Linked DNA regions of Homo sapiens: region 1 is linked to region 2. The links are contacts of gene promoters, found by promoter capture Hi-C in human tissues and cell types (Jung and others, 2019). All regions are on one chromosome and are shown on one strand. The core of a region is centred on a gene start or on the middle of the fragment in contact, and the rest is flanking DNA. Distances in the headings are between cores, read along the strand shown. Region 1 overlaps RPTOR (regulatory associated protein of MTOR complex 1). Region 2 holds the start of CARD14 (caspase recruitment domain family member 14).

Region 1 (5,126 bases), core at 1,774-4,273, 590 kb after region 2:
TGACTCAACCAAGAATCATTCAGAATTACCTTTAGAAACATAAATTCTTGTGGTTTTGATGATAGAGTTAACCATGTGTTCTCCAAGGAGTCTTCTAAAATACATCTGCTTTGCCAGAGAACACACTTTCTTCTGCCCGTTCAGTGCTCTCGGGTCTTTTGCCGCTTCCTTTCAACAACAGTCCGATGACTTTGTCTTCCTGCATATGTGCGAAGGGAGAGGAGCTCACTGGTCCTCCCAGAGGGTGAAGTAACCGGGACACATTATTGAATAAAATGCTCTTTTGTAGTATCCCACTCTGTATCTTAGACCTTAGTCGTAGGCAAGTTTAATTTGGAATTTGCGTCTGGAGAAACGGCTTTATGACGTTTCCAAGTAGAGCCTCAGTATCATGGATCTCACACAGTCCCCGCGGCAGCTTCCAGGCCGTTTCCAGAGGAAAATATTTTTTCTCCCCAAACAAGACAGTGTTCTCTCACTGTTCCAGTCTCTTGACATATACTCAATTAAGATGAATATCATAATGTATTGTAATAGAGCTCCCGTTTTAAAAGATGACGTGTAAAAACCACCTGATGGATGCGGTAAGAAAGGGAATTGAAGCAGATGGAGGGGCACGGGCTGCTGACTCCCCGGCTGAACCCCGTCCTCGGGTGCTGCAGGAAAGAGTGAGATTGATGATCCTGGAGGGAGCCCACTCAGCAGCACAGCCGGAGACTTTGCTGGTCCCTTGAGATGGCTGAGTCCCCACTGGGGGCTGGGGTGAGGGGTGAGGCCGGAGGAGACAGTGGAGCTGGCGAGGGCCCCAGGGTGCAGGCAAGGCTGAGGGCACTCGGCTCTCCTCCCACTGCCCTTGATAGGCATGGCCTGCTGTGCTGTGTCTGGGGCTCAGAAAGATGGAAAATAAGAGGGTGGAAAGAAAGAGTTTGTCCTACCGCCCTTGTGAAAAGAGAAGTAATCCAATAATAAATAAAAGTGATAAAAGACAATTGGAAATATGAAGAAGAAACAGGAAGAAAGACCAGTTGGAAGCATTAAGTATAAAAAATATAATTGGTGAAATAATTGAAGAGATGGATTGAAAAGCAACATTATGGATAGAGCCAAGAATAAACCAGGAAGCTGAGAAGCTTGTTTGAGGAGTTCCCACCAAAGGGATGGAGCTAGAAGGAAGGGGAGAAACATGAGAGGCAGAGACAAAGTTTAAATATCTAGGAAATAACATTTTCTTCTCTCTAAAAAAAAACGTAGAAAAGGAGAAAAGACAGGCTTAGTAAATAGAAAGTGTGAGATACGATGGCTAAAATGTTTTGAAATAAAGTTGTAACTGTAAACGAATTGAATTCACCTCTCAAAGGGCCATGATTCTTGTGTTGGTTAAAATCATGATACAGCAGTCTCTTGTCCATGAGACACAGATTTAAAGCAAAACGTTTAAGCCTGGGCAAAACAGCACGACCCTGTCTCTACTAAAAATTTAAAAATTAGCTGGACATGGTGGCTTATGCCTGTGGTCTCAGTTCCTCGGGAGGCTGAGGCAGGAGGATCAGTTGAGCCCAGGAGTTCAAGGCTGCAGTGAGCTGTGATTGTGCCACTGCACTCCAGCCTGGGTGACAGGGTAAGACCCAGTCTCTAAAAAAAAATAATAATAATAAAAAATAAGAACATGTATTTCAAAGGTTGGAAATCAGAAGATGAAAAAGAGAAATACGAGCTAAAAGAAAGCTGGGGTGGCCAGTCCCAATATGACTTAAAGCAGAAGCTGAGATAAATTATTGAGAGGGGCAAAGAAAAATGTTGTATTGTGGTAAAACGAACAGGAAAGCAGGAAGGTATATACTGATGATGACTGTGTGCACCTGACAACGTGGCCTCGAACGAGATAAGATGGGAGCTGAAGTGTGGATGGAAGCAGATGAATGAGAAGTGTGCTTAGATACAGAGACACCAAGTACAGACAAAGGAAGCAACGTAAATACGACTTTTGTCACCGAATTAATTAGCCAGACCTCACAGAGGCACACAGGACCATACATCCAACAGGGAATGTGGACATATGTGGACCATTCACAAAAATAAATCATGCGCCCGACTACAAAGAAAGCTTTACTAATCCGGAAGAATCAGCATCGTGTGAACTCCGTGGCAGACCACACGCAATGAAGCTAGAACTCAGTAACGAAAGGACAGCTTTAACAAAAGTCTGAAAACTAAAATCTTAAAATCCTTGGATTAAAGAGGAAATATTTTATATTTTTTATTTTTTTTTACATGTACACACTTACACATTTATTTGACTTCATTGTAGAACTTTGACATTAATCCCAATAACTAATCTCTTTATACATATTGTTTCATCCTGACATCAACCTGAACAGGGAAAATTGACTTATATAAGCACATAGCTACTATAGATGTCTTTTTAGAAACTGATTATTGATATATAGCAGAGAAACCTAAAATCTCTTTAACTAACTTGAAGTCCTGACCGTATGACTTCTTTTGTTATTTTATTTTATTTTATTTTATTTTATTTTATTTTATTTTATTTTATTTTATTTTATTATTATACTTTTAAGTTTTAGGGTACATGTGCACAATGTGCAGGTTACATATGTATACATGTGACATGCTGGTGTGCTGCACCCATTAACTCGTCATTTAGCATTAGGTATATCTCCTAATGCTATCCCTCCCCCCTCCCCCCACCCCACAACAGGCCCAGAGTGTGATGTTCCCCTTCCTGTGTCCATGTGTTCTCATTGTTCAGTTCCCACCTATGAGTGAGAACATGCAGTGTTTGGTTTTTTGTCCTTGCAATAGTTTACTGAGAATGATGATTTCCAATTTCATCCATGTCCCTACAAAGGACATGAACTCATCATTTTTTATGGCCGCATAGTATTCCATGGTGTATATGTGCCACATTTTCTTAATCCAGTCTATCATTGTTGGACATTTGGGTTGGTTCCAAGTCTTTGCTATTGTGAATAGTGCCACAGTAAACATACGTGTGCATGTGTCTTTATAGCAGCATGATTTATAGTCCTTTGAGTATATACCCAGTAATGGGATGGCTGGGTCAAATGGTATTTCTAGTTCTAGATCCCTGAGGAATCGCCACACTGACTTCCACAATGGTTGAACTAGTTTACAGTCCCACCAACAGTGTAAAAGTGTTCCTGTTTCTCCACATCCTCTCCAGCACCTGTTGTTTCCTGACTTTTTAACGATTGCCATTCTAACTGGTGTGAGATGGTATCTCATTGTGGTTTTGATTTGCATTTCTAAAGAGGAAATACTTTAAAACTGATAAAATACTCACAGCCAAATGTTAGTAATAGCACATTTGCTGTTTGTGGGGTGTATGTAGCCAAAGCAGGCGAGGATTTAATACATTTAGTCAGAAAACAAAGATTAAAAAAACAAGAAAAATTAAATGTTTGCCTTAAAGAGCCAGGGGAAAAATGCAATAAACAGATGAAAAACAAAATGAAGAGAGCGAATCTGAAAGATACAGGCAGCCCTACGCTGTCCGTCGCATCTCTGCATCCATAGGGTCTCTGCTTCATTTCCTGGGAGTCCTGCCAGTGTGGGAGGGGGCGTCCAGGGCCTCTGAACACTCTTCTCACAGATTTTCATCTGGGCACTTGCTCTCAGTTCTTCTTTTCAGAGAGCCAGTTGTCTCAGTTCTTGATACTTGCTGACAGCAGGCTTTGGGAGGTGAGTGCTTCATTTTGACTTTGCACCGTCCAGGTCAAAGGCTTCACTTCTCTCACCTCTGCTGAGCCACTTACGCTTGTCCAACTGTTTCTTAACGTTTGGTTGACATTTTACAGTTACAGGGATAACAGTAGCTAGCATTTGTCGAGCGTCACTGGAGCCATTCCACTAATGCACTCATCTAACACCACACGCCTGTAAGGTTTGGACTGGCGTTAGTGCTGCTTTCAGGATGAGGAAGTTCAGGTTGCTTGGAGAGTAGCTGGTGGAGTCAGGATTCAAAGCTGGGTGCCCAGGCTCCCGAACTGACAGCCTCAACTCTGTTGTTCCGCCTCTCTCTCTCCTGCCCAGCGTCTCTCATTTGCCATGATTTCCTTCCTGGGGCTCTCCGTCCTTGTCCTGTTCTTTTTCTCTCGTTATGGAGGAAGTTGAGATCACTATCATCTATAGTCTGTCACGTCTAAATAGAGGTTACCACGACTTACTTAACGTGGTAAAGGCTACATCAGAGCTCTTCAGCAAACCAGCCTAGTGGGGAGACTGGAGACGTCTTCCCTTCGAAGCTGGGAACAAGGCAAAGATTCTCTCTCGCACTAAAACAGTATTAGAATTCCTGACCCCCAGTAAGATAACTCCATAACCAGCAGAAGGAATGTGAACATTTGTAATTATCTGTTTACAGTAAGGGCCATCTAACATAGTTCACTGATTCTAGCATGTACTTTTTAAATTTTTTTTAAGACGTGATCTTGCTTTGTCACCCAGGCTGGAGTGCAGTGGTGTGAACACGGCCCACCGTAGTCTCAACTTCTCGGGCTCAAGCAATCCCCCCACCTCAGCCCCCCAGGTAACTGGGACTACAGGTGTATGCCACCATTCTGACTAATTTTTGTATCTTTTGTAGAGACTGTGTCACCATGTTGCCCAGGCTGGTCTCGAACTCCTAAGCTCAAGAGATCCTCCCACCTCAGCCTTACAAAGTGCTGGAATTACAAGCATGAGGCACCATGTCTGGTCCTTTTTTAAAAAATAGAGACAGGGTCTCTCCCTTTTACTTAGATGGGAGTGCAGTGACACAGTCATAGCTCACTGCATCCTTGAACTCCTGGGCTCAAGTGATCCTCCTGCTTTAGCCTCCCAAAGTGCTGGAATTCCAGGCATGAGCCACCACGCCTGATCCCAGCATGTGCGTTTTCACACTTAACATATCTGGGGTCCAGAAGCATCTTACAATAAGTAACATACCTGTTTAGTTGGCAGTTCTTTTCCTTTGTTAATAGTGTATAGAAATGCTTGCAAAGGTCCACCTAGAGGTGTGCACTGTACCCTTTCTTACTGCTGTTTGTAAGCTCACTGTTTGTCACTAGGGAAAGAAACAGGCACCATTACTTAACTAGGTGTTC
Region 2 (4,866 bases), core at 426-2,925:
GGCTTCCAGCTTCATCCATGTCTCTGCAAAGGCCCTTCATTCCTTTCTATGGCTGCACCTTGACTATTTCTATGGCTATTTCTGTTCTTAGGGAGGCTCCTCCCATCTCCAGTGCATTCTTCTGCCCCCCTCTTTTACTGGGAATGGCGGCATTTCTTTGCGTTTTCTGTAACTAGAATTCTCTGTGTGGCTGGCACAGTGTGATGAGCTGGCAAGCTTCCCCACTGTGGGGGAGGGCTTATCATGAGGTCTGCTGGAGGAAACTAAGAGAGCTGAGCCTTAGGGGCTTAAATGAACTGCCTGAGGGGAAGCTGACACCCAGTGGGGCTGTAACCCTGGTTGGAGAGTTCATGTCTGCACCTGGCCTCGGCCTGCGTTCTCACTTGCTCTGCCCAACTGGCTGTGCCTTCAGCCGGCTCATCACCAGGAGATTTGGGTTGGAGCTACTGCTCAGCCACCATGAGCTACATGACCTTGAAGGCCGATCTTTGATTGTCCGCAGGATAATCCTGAAGGTTCTCAGGCCATGGACCTGTGAATTTCCCTTCTTTCAGTGTCTGCATCATTGGGAACCAAGCCCCTAACCAATGTTTATTCATTCGCTCAACCAATATTTGTGGAATATCACAGCCCTAGGGGTGGGGACACAGCAGGGAACAAGAAAGACAAGAATTATTGTCCTCAGTAGGTTACTGTGGAGTGGGGAGGCTGGCAGGAAGCCACGTAACTAGAATACACGTTAGGTCAAGGCAGTATTCCCACAGAGAAGATGGAACAGGGAAGGGGAGTGAAGGCCAGGATGGGAGGTCTACGGACTTAAGTAGGATGATCTGGGAAGTAGCATTTGAGTAGAGTCTGGAAGGAGGGATGGGAAAGAGTGTTCCAGGCAGTGGGAACAGCAGGTGCAAAGGCCCTGGGGCAGAAGTGTGCCTGGACTGTCAAGACTGTTGGGCTGTGTGTCTGGAGCAGGTAAAAGAGAGATAAGGTCAGCAAGGACCTGATAAGCAGAGCCTCATGGTCACGCTGAGGACTCCAGGACCTGTACACCGAAGGGAATGACAGGAGCTGACTCATGCCCTAGCAGGACTTCTCTGTCTGCTGTGTTGAGCGCTGGTGATGGGGGCGTGGGAAGAAGTTAGGAGCCATTACAGAGGTCCCGGTGGGCCATGATCAGGACACCACAATGCAGGTGGTGAGAATGGATCGGATTCTAGACATATCTCAAGGTGGAGGACCAAGACTTTCATCTAAATCTAAACAATAGTTATGAAATGTTAACTTGAGATGGATCTATTGGAATTATTCAGATACTTCCAATAATGGATCATGAGAACCAAGAAAGGCCCTAGAATTTATCCTGATCTTCGTAGGATTTTCCCAAGGGTAGAAATGATGATGAACTGGGTGACCGTTCACAAAGGAGAGAGGATTCCCAGCCCCCAAGCCTGAAGCCTTCCCCTCAATCACCCTCAATCACCATCTTCTGTGGGTCGACCAGATGCACGGACTGTTCTCAGCCATCCCTGTGGTTCTTACGGCAATGTCTAGCTGTGGGACTGCACTGGTGCTTCGATGGCTCATAGAAGCCCCATATAAGGCACTGCTCCTGTGGGATGTGCCTGTCAAACCTGCTTGTCCACTGCCGTTCAGTTCAGCCAGAGATTGGGCCACATTCAGTCCTCGCTTCCCTGGGAGGGGGAAGGTAAGTGCGCGCAGTCCATCCGGCGAAGAGCAGGTCAGCCTACGGAGGGCTCAGCCTACGGAGGGGCTCAGCCGACACAGGTCTGATGGGGCCCGAGAGTGGTCCCAGGGGAGTGGGAGGGGCCGGCATCTTCCTCATCAGGAGTGGAGGAGCTGCCTTGTATGTGGACTAGAGAACAGAAAACGGCTTGTCTGTGTTGCTGGGTCAATCACTGGAACATTCTCTGAATGCTGAGTTCTGCCTTAAAACAGCATGGGTCATGCTAGATGAAAGGGATCTCTGTTTTATACTCTCATCTCTTCGCTATTGCCGTGGGATGAAAGACAGCAGAAGGAAGGTGTCTAAGTTCAGAACAAAGTGAGCAAGACCAGCTGGCTGCTGTTGGTAGCAGAGGCACAGCCAGCCTGTCATGGCACTGGGGGGCCGAGGTGAGCTGTGCCCCCTCCTCCTGGGCTTGTGACCCTCTGCCCCCCATGGGGTATGTACATGTGTGTGTGTGCGTGTGCGTGTGTGTATGTGTACATGCCTTCTTCCCTACTTCACTGGCAAGGGAAGAGACTGACACTTGGGTTAGGAGAAGGATGTTGACCTGGGAGGGGTCAAATAAGGAGAACCCACATCTTAGATGCTCAGGATTTTATGATCTTAGGCTCTTCTAGAATTGCTGTACAGTTAGATTCAGAGTTTGGAATTAGAGATCTCTGGGCCCTCCCCTCCCCTCCCGTCCCCTCCCCTCCCGTCCCCTCCCCTCCTCTCCCCTCCCCTCCTCTCCCCTCTCCTCCCCTCCCCTCTTCTCTCCTTTTTCAGAAGTCTCCCTCTGTCGCCCAGGCTAGAGTTGCAGTGGCACAATCTCGGCTCACTGCAATTTCTGCCTCCTGGGTTCAGGTGATTCTCCTGCCTCAGTCTCCCAAGTAGCTGGGACTATAGGTGCACGCCACCACACCTGGTTAATTTTTTTATTTTTAGTAGAGACAGGGTTTTGTCACGTTGGCTAGGCTGGTCTCAAACTCCTGACTTCAGGTAATCCGCCCATCTTGGTCTCCCAAAGTGCTGGGATTACGGGCGTGAGCCACGGCTCCTGGCGCCTTCCCATTCACCTTCCCCTTCCCCTCCCCTTCCTCCCTCCCTCCCTCCCTCCCTCCCTCCCTCCCTTCCTTCCTTCCTTCCTTCCTTCCTTCCTTCCTTCCTTCTCTCTCTCCTTCCCTTCCTTCCTCTCTCTTTCTTTTCTTCTTTTCTTTCTTTCTTTCTCTCTCTCTCTCTTTCTTTCTTTTCCTTTTTTTGAGCCAGGGTCTTGCTCTGTCACCCAGGCTGGAGGGCAGTGGCACAATCATAGCTCACTGCAGCCTTGAACTCTTGAGCTCAAGCAATCCTCCTGCCTTGGCCTCCAAAGTGCTGGGATTACAGGCCTGAGCCACTGTGCCCAGCCCTAAGGTTTTTTGTTTTGTTTTGTTTTGTTTTACTGTTAGGACTAACCCTTATTTACACTGGGACAAGTTACAAAGAAACTCCTGCAATTGTTAACTGCCATTGGAGACTACTGTAAGTTGCTTCATGGCAACTGCAGAAGGGACTAGTGACTTCTATTTAGCTCCACCCACTGATGCTTGAAGTTCAGTGTGGCTCTGGGGGCTCCAGAAGCCTGAGGGGCAGCTGGCTGGGGCAGTTGGCTGGGGTCTGGAGAGTTCTGCAGAGCCCCTGTCTTCAGCTGCTGGTGAGGCAGCTTTGGCTTGAGCTGCCCTGGCTTTCTGAGTTCAGTCTGATGGGAGGGCACAGTCAGCACCCTCAGACCCTCCTCAGGAGTCTTGTGAGGCTCGGGCAAGTCAGGGGCAGAGGGACAATCCAACTAGAGGACCCTCCCAGACCCGGTCGTTGCCACCTGGACCCAGCCCCAGGAAGGCACCCGAGAAACCTGTAGTCCTCGGCTGACCACCAGTCCTGGTCCTCAGGATATCCGCAGAGACCTGGCTGTCCAGAACTCCCAGGGTTTCAGCTGCAAGCTGGAGATGTGGCCCCTTGGCAACTCGATATAGTAAGATACTGGAGAGCGTGCCAGAGTGTCATTTGCTAGAAACAAACATTATACTGCGGTAAGCCCTAGTTTTTCAGTCATTGGCTCTTTGGCACCAACTTAATCACAAGGCCATTGGCCCCAAAGAAAGGCCTTGTAGGCGACTGTTTAGGGACACCTGTATTTTCCATCTGCCTTGGAACCTCTAGGCTCAGGCCGAATGCCTATTGAAGTAGATGTTTCGTAAGAGATTTGGGGGCAAATACTGGGATTTTATAAAGATGCTGCACTCTCCTTCACTAAGTAGAAAGCTGAGAAATCCTGCCCTGAGGGGAAGAAACAGTTGTCTTCCTGACTGATGCATCCTAGACCAGCCAAGACTTCCTCCCGCTTTCCTTCTTCTAGAACTTTCCCCACTTCAGCCAGTATCTGTCATCCCCTGGGCTCCCACCCTCTCCATGTGCCGCTTTCATCGGGGCTGAGGGGAGCAGGAGAGGAGACGTTTCTGCTGGTGTCCCCGCTGTAGCTGGAGGAGCTCGGCGTCGGCGTGCCTTCGCCTCCCCTTGCCATGATGCCCCCTAAACCGAGTCTGTATTGAGAGAGAAAGGTGGCACCGTTGATCATTACTCCAGGACAAGAGTCATAAAAGGACTGTCCCAGACAACCTAGGACCCCAGTGTTCTGTGGCGAACACTTCTAGGATGAGGCCCATCTCCTTCTCTGTTTCATCAATTGGATTAATTTTATTGTTTTCTAAAATAATGACTATGGTTTTTATTGAACCCATACTTGCTTATTCTAAACATTCTTTTTTTTTTTTTTTTTTTTTTTTTTGAGGTAGAGTTTCACTCTGGCTCCTAGGCTGGAATGCAGTGGCACCATCTCAGCTCTCTGCAACCTCCACTTCCCAGGTTCAAGCGATTCTCCTGCCTCACCCTCCTGAGTAGCTGGGACTACAGGCGAGCACCACCACAGCCGGCTAATTTTTCTATTTCTAGTAGAAATGGGGTTTCACCATGTTGGCAGGCTGGTCTCGAACTCTGACCTCAAGTGATCTGCCTGCCTCAGCCTCTGAAAGTGCTGGATTGCAGGCGTGAGCCACCGCACCAGGCCTAAACAGATTTCTTTACAATCTACCACCATGAACAGCAAGCAT

Evidence for each region. Contacts are between HindIII fragments. The study calls those that stand out against the background at their distance.
Region 1: a contact is called between a fragment that was not itself captured here and the fragment with the promoter of CARD14 in region 2, in 2 of the 25 tissues and cell types used here (hippocampus and mesendoderm cells).

The regions. Positions count from the first base shown.
Region 1 is chr17:80,761,613-80,766,738 of GRCh38, forward strand. The region is part of intron 6 of RPTOR (regulatory associated protein of MTOR complex 1); the gene reads left to right. Among named protein-coding and RNA genes, the nearest start is that of RPTOR, 220 kb to the left of the region's middle. RefSeq lists an enhancer at 1-621. The HindIII fragment of the contact is 5,919 bases long and covers 65-5,126 here.
Region 2 is chr17:80,168,355-80,173,220 of GRCh38, forward strand. CARD14 (caspase recruitment domain family member 14) reads left to right here and starts at 1,676. Exons shown (of 24, transcript NM_001366385.1): 1 at 1,676-1,702; 2 at 4,552-4,866. The HindIII fragment of the contact is 21,960 bases long and covers 1-4,866 here.